Regions from separate parts of the Homo sapiens genome. Here region 2 is linked to region 1. The links are contacts of gene promoters, found by promoter capture Hi-C in blood cells and fetal thymus (Javierre and others, 2016). All regions are on one chromosome and are shown on one strand. Each heading gives the region's core, a stretch centred on a gene start or on the middle of the fragment in contact. The rest is flanking DNA. Distances are from core to core; before and after follow the strand shown.

Region 1 (4,615 bases), core at 482-2,981:
TGGGAATACAGGCATGCGCCACCTCACCTGACTATTTTTTTTTTCACTTTTTGTAAAGATGGGGTCTCCCTGTATTGCCCAGGCTGATCTCAAACTCCTGGCCTCAAGCCATCCTCCCGCCTCAGCCTCCCAAAGTGCTGGGATTACAGGCATGAGCCACTATGCCCGGCCTTTAATTTCCTCTTGTGCAAAATGGAGATTTTGCCCACCTCCTCAGGCTGTGTGAGGATTAGAATAAGAAGTTGCTGCCATCCACTTATGAATATTTTATCTCATTCAGTCCCAGCTGTAAATACCATTTGTGACCATCCTCTTCAGCTCTCCCTGCCTCCCTAGCCCAGCCCTCACTCCTGTTCTCTAGGCCAGAGGAACAACCGCCTGCTGGACATGGCTTCCTTTCTTCCCTCTTCCTACAAAGCTCTTCTCTTTCATCTCCCTGAAAACTGCTCCTCATACTACAACACGCAGATCAAACCACTTTCTCCAGGAAGCTTTGCCTGTCCCCAGGCTAGGCAGGTGTTTCCTCTGGGTTTCAGTAGCCCTCATGGGCTGATAATCTCTATCACAAGTGGCGGTGGAAGTGCCCAGCCCGTGACTGGAATCTCCTGCATGGAGCCAGGTGCAACCCACCAGTGGGCTAGGGCCCTCTGCCAAGCAGGGACAGATCCCTCTCTCCTACCATCACCTTACCTGGGCCCACCACCTCTCATCTGGAATATCTCCTGTTCTGGCAAATCACACCTGGGCTCCTCCAAGGCAAAGTGCAGGACCCTGGGGCTATACTGGACCCAAGCTTGGGCCTGGTCCCTGCAGAAGGTGCACAGGAAGGAAGCTGAGAGGCTCCTTTCTGGAAACCACAGAAAAGGCAACCCTGGCTCCTTGTTAGGGGCAGCGCTAGCCCACCTGGTATCTAGGGAAAGGGCCCAGGCCTGAGGCTCCCACCTGCCCTCACAGATGGCTTTGTGGCGGAGACCCTGGAGCAACTGCCGGAGCTCCTGGCGCAAGAGGTCCTTTAGGAGAGGCGGTGGTGCCAGAAGAGAAGAGGGGTCAGAGATGGGGCGGGAGCTGGGGGCTTGAGAGGATCGAGCCTCTTGGAGCAGTGCCCGTAACATCGCCACCTGCAAGGAGAGCTGGGATACCTTGCGACTGGGGAGGGGAGTGTCCGGAATGGTGGGGGCTGGGGGAGTGAGGGAGAGGGCGGAGTCAAAGGGGAGACCAGGATAGGATCTCGGGAGTTACCCGGCAGGGCCAGGGACCCGCAGAGGTGGGAAATCACCCGAGTCGTGGGGCAGGCCAGGGGCGTGGCCCACCTTCCCTCTCCCCACCTCCGCCCGCAGCTCCAGGCTCAGGTCCACCGCCGCCTCCCCCAGAATCCTCTTCACTTCGCGTCGCTCCCGGAGCGGAACGTGCTCCTCCACCAGCTCCCACAGCGAGGGGGAGTGCCGGAGCATGACCCACCGACGCCGCCGTCCCCGGCTCGGACCTACGGGCCGCAGGTCAGAGTGCGGGAGGTACCGCGGGCCCGCCGGCAACGCTCACCAAACCCCGCCCCTCTATGGGCCCCGCCCTCTCCCAAGCCCCACCCGTGCTCTGCCGCTGGTCCCCTCGGCTGGGATTGCCCGTTCCGGAACTGCCAGTCCTTGGCGCTCTCTTCTGCCCGGCTTTTGGCCGACTCGGATGCCGGGGGCCCAGAAACCAGGCAGTGGGAACCAGGGCCCTAGCCCCACCTCTTCCGCGTGGCCATCACCCGGGAAACCACGCCGCGACTCTAGGGCCCCGCCCCCTCCCGTGTTTGGTCCGGCGGGCGGCGCGTGCCGGCTGGGAGTTCAGACTCACCTCGGCGCTCCACCGAGCCCTGACCCAAGCACTTTGGGCTCGGCCCTGGGCACCTTTAGGCCTCAGGGAACGTGTTAAGACCTGAGAAATCTGGGTCCACGGGTTTATTACTTCGTCGCCTCCACTGTCCCGGAAGCAGTGCAAGGACAAACTTCCCCTTAAGGCCAGTGAAAGCCTAGGGAGTGGCAGCGCTTGGAGAACCAGGATGGCCCGGGTCAGGTTTACTTGTTGGGCCAGGTTCCCCAAGTGCCCTTCCACCACAACACACTCAGGGTAACCACGTTCAGGGACCCGACCCCCACCCCCAAACAGACAAGGGAGCTGCTCCATTCACGTTTTTTACTAAAGCACCCACACAAGTTTCTGTGCAATGTACAAACACAAGCCGGCCCTGGGGCTCCTGCCTCCTCTCTCAGACAGGGAGGCGGGAACCAGACTTACTGATCCAAGCCCCACCTGCCTCCCATGCAAAGGCCAACCCCAAGATCCCAGGCAGCGACACAGCATCCCCTCTGGTCCCCTCCTGGGGCTGCTCCTCAGCAGGGGGCGCACCAAAGCTTGCCCCCTACAATGTTGAATGAAAAAGGTTTCCCCTCCCCTGGGAGCAAGGGGGTTCCCAAGAGCTGAGAATTCCCCCTGGAAGAGACACTGCCCCCTAGACATACCTCCCACCCTTCCAGGCCCTAGGGGACTCAAGGGGGGGAAACTGAGGCACAGAGAGGTGGAGTGACCTAGCCCAGGCCACTCTGCGAGGCAGTGCAGGGGCTGGCCCGACCCTGACAGTGACTGGGGCTGGGCTAGGGGGAGGGGGTCGGGAAGGAGGGTTGACTCCAAAGAGGGCCACACTTGAAGAGCCTGCCCAGGCAGGAGGCCCCCCAAAGTGGGTTCTGAAACTTCCAGGTGTAGCTAGGGGGCCTAGTGAAGACCCTTGGAAAACAGAGCCCAGTCTCAGTCCTGGAGGTCCTCCACAGAGCAGCTGCCAGCCAGGCTGTGGTCAGTCCTCTGGCAGGCAATCTTCGGCACCGAGAGCCTCTGTCCATTAGTGTCAGCCCCGAGGGGGCCACGACGGAGGCCGCCCAATGTCCACTGTGATATTGGTGAAGAGTGGTTGCCGAGACACCTCCAAGACCTGGTACCGCACTGACCCAATGCCGTCCCGCTTCATGGTCAGCTTCGTGTTTTGAATCTTGGTAAACCTAGATAGGATGGAAATGGTCCACATCAGGGCTAACAACTGTAAACTAAAAATAAAATCCTACACCCCCCAACCAACTAAATGGACCCCCTTTTGGCCAAGGGGACCCCAGGGAACCTTAAAAACAGGGTTTCCAGCTATGATGGGAAGGGACGTCAAACATGCCATGTTATGCCCACGCCCTTTTGCAGCTTAGACACAACAAATGACCAGCATTAACGTCAAAGCAGAGATCACAAGACTGACAGAATGCATTGTTTGTGTCAATAAGATACCTAATTATAAATAGGATCTAAGGCCATGCCAGGCAAGGGTTAAGTCTTGCACCTCTGCACTTAAAGAAGAGACTATGCTCTAACTGCCGCGAGGATTTTCTTTTTCTGTAGCAGCTAAACAAGTACAGGACTTGAGATAACCAATATTAAAACAATTTGTATAATGTGGTAATATAAATAATAGAAAAAAATTTGCAGCTCACCCACTGCCAGATGCTGACCCCTACGCCCCTGTTCCACAAGCCATAATTATAGCTTTGGTGGGACAAGAGACTGATCTCAGTAACTTTCTCCTGATAAGACCATCGGCCATGGACTGGTTCTAGCCAGCTTACAGAGGCTGCGCACTTGAGTGCTTTTGTCTTTTTGACGTATGGGGCCTAACTGCGATATATTTAAATATTAAGTCTCCACCCCAAGGTGAACATGGATGGTATATAACATGCATGTTTGTTCGATATGCATATGTCAGGACCCCCTCCGTAAATATTCATAGCTCCTCCAGTAACCTGTTGACCAATCCATTCAACTAAAATTCCTATCTCACTCCTCCCTCCCTCAAAGTGCCTGTTAAGGCTTTGGCTGGAGGCTCTGCTTCCTAGCCAGTGGGATGGCCAGCCTGCAGGTTGTAACCCTTTATAAAAGAGAAATAAAGTCTCCTTTTCAAATTTATTGATCTAGTGATTTTTTTTTTTTTTTTTTTGAGACAGAGTACAATGGCACCACCTCGGCTCACTGCACCCTCCACTTCCCAGGTTCAAGCGATTCTCCTGCCTCAGCCTTCTGAGTAGCTGGGATTACAGATGCCTGCCACTGCGCCAGCTGATTTTTGTATTTTTAGTAGAGATGGGGTTTCACCATGTTGGTCAGGCTGGTCTCGAACTCCTAACCTCAGGTGATCCACCCGCCTTGACTACCCAAAGTGCTGGGATTATAGGCATGAGCCACCTCATCCAGCTGATCTAGTGATTTTTAAGTTAACACCACCAAACCCAATATGGGATCTCTGGGGCCTAGGCTTAAGCCAATCTGGCTCCTTCCAGGGTTGATTTGGCAGGAGCCCTTCTGCTCCTGCATTGGCCCTCAAAACAGAGATGTCAGCTGCTCCAGTCAGAAAACAGACGTCTGACACCCTCACAAATCTCTCAGCTCAGACTTTTTTTTTTTTTTTTTTTTTGAGACAGAGTCTTGCTCTGTTGCCTAGGCTGGAATATAGTGGCGCGGTCTCGGCTCACTGCAACCTCTGCCTCCTGGGTTCAAGCGATTCTCCTGCCTTAGCCTCCTGAGTAGCTGAGACTACAGGTGCACA
Region 2 (4,480 bases), core at 1,863-4,362, 260 kb after region 1:
TAAGTTGTAAGTAGTCTGCGCACAAAAGGCAAGTGGCTCTTAGAAAGAATTTTCTTTTCTTTTAGAAGGGGGCAGAAGTGGCTGGCACCACCCCTCTCCTTTCTGTGCCAAATGCAAGAGATGTGATGCTGAATTGTCACAACCATACAGTGACCACAGCCCAAGGCTCTGGCAGACACACAACAGTCAGTGAGTCAACAGATGCAGCCATTCTTTTCAACAAATATGGCAGTGAGAAGGCTGAAGTAATCACCTGTTTTATTTCAGTCTTTTCCATTAGGGAAAACAATCTTCAAATGACAAGAGTAGAACAAATCCCAAGGAGGAAACTGATTTCCAAAAGTAGACAACATACAAAAGAGCAAAAAAGAGCTTAAAGGAAGCCAAAGCCTCCAAGACAAGGAGAACAATATCCCGAGATCCTGTGAGAGATGTAATTTCAAACTCGCCGCTAGGACAAAAGTCTGACACATTCTAGAAGTGAGGCTGTGGGGTAAAAACAGGCTTTCATACATTACTGGTGGTGGAAGGGATTTGAAAATATCTAACAAAATTACACATGCTTTTAACCCTTTAACCCAATAGTCTCACTTCTAAGAAACTATCCCAAAGATACACTGACAAAAATACAAAAAGTCTTATGTGAATGGCCACTTATTGTAGCACTATTTGTAACGTAACAGAGTAAGATTCAATGTACTCCAAATGTCCTTCAACAAGGGTTGAATCAACTATGGTACATACACAAAATAGGTACTATGCATCCATAAACAAAATGAGGTCCCTCTATCCCTTCCTTTCTAAATAATCTAAAAACCAGTAGGCTTTAGGGAGAGTCACACATGCCTGGGGTGAAAGGGGAGAGAGGGACATTAGTCCATGTGAGGGGTCTAGGTTGTGGCAACAGGTGATTTGGGATTGACCAGATAAGTAAATGTATTGAAGCTAATGGGAACAAGATTTCCCAATGATGGAGAAGAAAGTTACAAATATGGAAAGGGAAAACTGGAATTAATATTTTGACTTGTATTGAAATTGGAGGTATTCAGTGGGAAAAAAATGGTTTTTAATATATAACCAGGCATGGTGGCTCACACCTGTAATCCCCGTACTTTGGGAGGCCAAGGAATAAGGATCACTTGAGCCCAAGAGTTTGAGACCAGCCTGGGCAATATAGTCTTTACAAAAAATTGTCTCGATAGCTGGGCGTGGTAGTGGACACCTGTAATCCCAGCTACTTGGGAGGCTGAGGCAGGAGAATCACTTGAACTGGGGAGGCAGAGGTTGCAGTGAGCCCAGATCATGGCACTGCACTCCAGCCTGGGTGACAGAGTGAGAATCTGTCTCAAAAAAAAAAAAAAAAAAGAAAAATAATTGTCTCTACAAAAAATTTAAAAATTAGCTAGGCCTGGTGGCATGTGCCTGTAGTCCCAGTTACTCAGGAGTCTGCAGTGGGAGGAGCACTTGAGCCTAGGCAGTGAAGGCTGCAGTGAGCTGAGAACATGCAACTGCACTCCAGCCTGGGCGACAAAGAGAGACTCTGTCTCAAAACGAACAATAATACAGAAATATATATGTGTGTGTGTGTATATGTACATATGTGTGTATACATATGTGTATATATGTGTGTTATATATACAAAGACATAAAAATAAATATAGTGAGGATAGTGTGTGTACATTTGTGTGTATACACACATATAATTTTTTTTAAACAGTTTCTGTCATTCAGACCAGAGTGCAGTGGCGTGATCATACCTCACTGCAACCTCGACCTCCTGGGCTCAAGTGATCCTCCCATCTCAGCTTCCCAAGTAGGTAGGACCATAGGCACGTGTCACCACGCCCAGCTACTAAAATTTTTTTAACTTTTTGTGGCAACAGGGTCTTGCTATGTGGCCCAGGTTGGTATCAAACTCCTAGACTCAAATGATCCTCCTGCCTTGGCCTCCCAAAGTGCTGGGATTACAGGCGTGCGCCACTGTGCCCACCCCCCCAACATATAACTCTTTAGCTCTGCCCACAGAAAGACCCTGGCAGTGGTCATATCTCAACAGCATGAAGCATATCTAGTACCTAGATTTTGATGGTGTTTTTGTTTTTGTTTTTGTTTTCTGAGAAGGAGTTTCGCTCTTGTTGCCCAGGCTGGAGTGCAATGGTGCGATTTCAGCTCACGATAACCTCCGTAGATCTTGGTTTTGAAATACTATTCTCCACTAACAAGAAGCAGGGTGCAGCCATAAAAAAAGAATGAATTCAGGTCTTTGCAGCAACATGGTTGCTGCTGGAGGCCATCATCCTAAGCAAATTAACGCAGGAACAGAAAACCAAATACCACATGTTCTTACTTGTAAGTGGCAGCTAAACATTGGGTACTTACGGACACACAGATGGCAATAACAGACACTGGAGACTACTAGATGGGGATGAGGGGTGAAGGCGCAAGGGTTGAAAAATGAACTGTTGGGTACTATGCTGAGTACATGGGTGACAGGATCAATCATACTCCAAATCTCAGCATCACACAATACCCATGTAACAAACCTGAACATGTATCACTGAATTGAAAATAAAAGTTGAAATTATTTTTTTAAAAAAGGTTTAGGACACAGATAGAAAAAGGCACTTAATATTCAAGAGGAGTCATGGGTCTTCCGGGAGAAAAAAAAAATTTTTGAGACACCTAAAACCCAGAACAATGTGAAGTTTGGGGAAGGGATGAGGCTAAAGACAGCATAAATGATTTTTCAAAGTTATGTTTGAAGCAAGAAGAAAAGATGAGGAATAGGTTTAGTTTCATCTCTGATACAGCATTTCTTGTTAAAACTGATGGCTTTCTCTGCAGGCACCTGCCTTCTGAATGCTGGTCCCACTCAGCCATCCACTTTCACTTTTTACCAAGTTAATTTCTACTGATTCTTCAGATCAGTTAATTACTGGTATGCTGCCCCTCCCCAGTCAAGGATCTTTTATTACCCTACCATAGAATCACATTTCTTTCCTTAGTGCACTTCTCTCACTTGAGAAATGCCCCCATTAATGTTATTACTTGATTAATATCGACCTCCCTTTTCTCCTTCCAGGGCTGAAATTGTGTCTGGTTTTGCTCATCATCTTATAGCATATAGCAGGAGTGTAATAAACAATTGCTTAAAAAAAAAAAAGGAAGCAGGTCTCCTTGGAAGAATGGCTGACTCCAAGGCTGGGGCAGAGAAGGCGTAAGGTAAGTCTGGGCCACCTTGTTGTGCCTGAAAATGGGAAAATGCTCAGAGTGAGGACAGGTCAAAAGGAAAAAGGAATCAGCCTGAGGAGCTCCCACTGGTCAGATCTGGAGCAATTCAGCATCAAGATAAAGACTGATAATAACAGATTATAATCCATTAAATAAGAATCTAATAAAGGGGGAGAAAGCTCTCAGAGTGAAACGACAGCTGATGAAAATAGAAGGAATAATGTAATTAGAAAATCACCATTTAGGAACCATTATAGTAATAATTCACCCAAGAAACATCAATGGATGCTAAAATTAATGCATACAAGTTTTACAAGAAATGGGATACAGGGCCAGAAACAATGGCTTACACCTGTAATCCCAGCACTTTGGGAGGCCGAGGCAGGCGGATCATTTGAGGTCAGGAGTTCGAGACCAGCCTGGCCAACATGGGGAAACCCCATATTACTAAAAATACAAAAATTAGCCAGGCATGGTGGCACCCACCTGTAATCTCAGCTACTTGTGTGGCTGAGGCAGAAGAATTGCTTGAACTCGGCAGGCGGAGGCTGCAGTGAGCCAAGATCGTGCCACTGCACTCCAGCCTGAACAAGAAAACAAGACTCTATCTCAAGAAAAGAAAAAGAAATGGGATATAGGCCAGGCACAGTAGCCCATGCCTGTAATACTAGCACTTTGGGAGGCCAAGGTAGGAGGATCACATGAGGCCAAGAGTTCAAGACCAGCCTGGGCAACACAGCAAAATTCCACCTCTAGAAAAAATTTTAAGATTAGCTGGGCATAGTGGCATGTGCCTGTAGTCCCAGCTACTTGGGAGGCTGAGGAGGGAGGATTACTTGAGCCCAGGAGTTAGAGGCTGCAATGAGCTAAGATCATGCCACCGCACTCCAGCCTGAGTGACAGAGCAAGACCCTATCTCTTATAAATAAATAAATAAAAAATAAGATATAAAATAGTTTTAAACTATTTCCTCACTAATTATTAACAGAGGGGAACAGAGTAACTTTGAAGTTGAGAAATCTGACAGACATCACAATAAGCTAGCTGAAGGGGACATATGGGAGTTCTTTGTAATATTTCTACAACTCTTTTGTAAATAAGAAGTTATTTCAAAATGAAAAGTTAAAAAGGGAAAGGAATTTTAAACTAAATGTTCAAATAAACATCTAAATGAGAGTTTATGCAGCCACTTTAAATGGCTGCATAAACTTAAAAAAATTTTTTAATGGTATAGAGAAATGCTTTTGGT

Evidence for each region. Contacts are between HindIII fragments. The CHiCAGO score rates a contact against its expected background, and 5 or more counts as called.
Region 2: the fragment with the promoter of ST3GAL3-AS1 here is called in contact with the fragment with the promoter of CCDC24 in region 1 in 3 of 17 cell types (endothelial precursors, megakaryocytes and activated CD4 T cells); the score reaches 7.0 in endothelial precursors.

What each region holds. Positions count from the first base shown.
Region 1 is chr1:43,988,715-43,993,329 of GRCh38, reverse strand. CCDC24 (coiled-coil domain containing 24) reads right to left here and starts at 1,731. Exons shown (of 9, transcript NM_152499.4): 1 at 1,584-1,731; 2 at 1,326-1,483; 3 at 943-1,118; 4 at 691-807. The coding sequence starts at 1,451. It overlaps B4GALT2 (beta-1,4-galactosyltransferase 2), which reads right to left. Exons shown (of 7, transcript NM_003780.5): 7 at 2,162-3,032. The coding sequence ends at 2,882. RefSeq lists silencers at 1,278-1,327, 1,468-1,577. The HindIII fragment of the contact is 1,600 bases long and covers 796-2,395 here.
Region 2 is chr1:43,725,975-43,730,454 of GRCh38, reverse strand. ST3GAL3-AS1 (ST3GAL3 antisense RNA 1) reads left to right here and starts at 3,112. Exons shown (of 4, transcript NR_125986.1): 1 at 3,112-3,222. All of the region lies in intron 1 of ST3GAL3 (ST3 beta-galactoside alpha-2,3-sialyltransferase 3), which reads right to left. The HindIII fragment of the contact is 15,149 bases long and covers 1-4,480 here.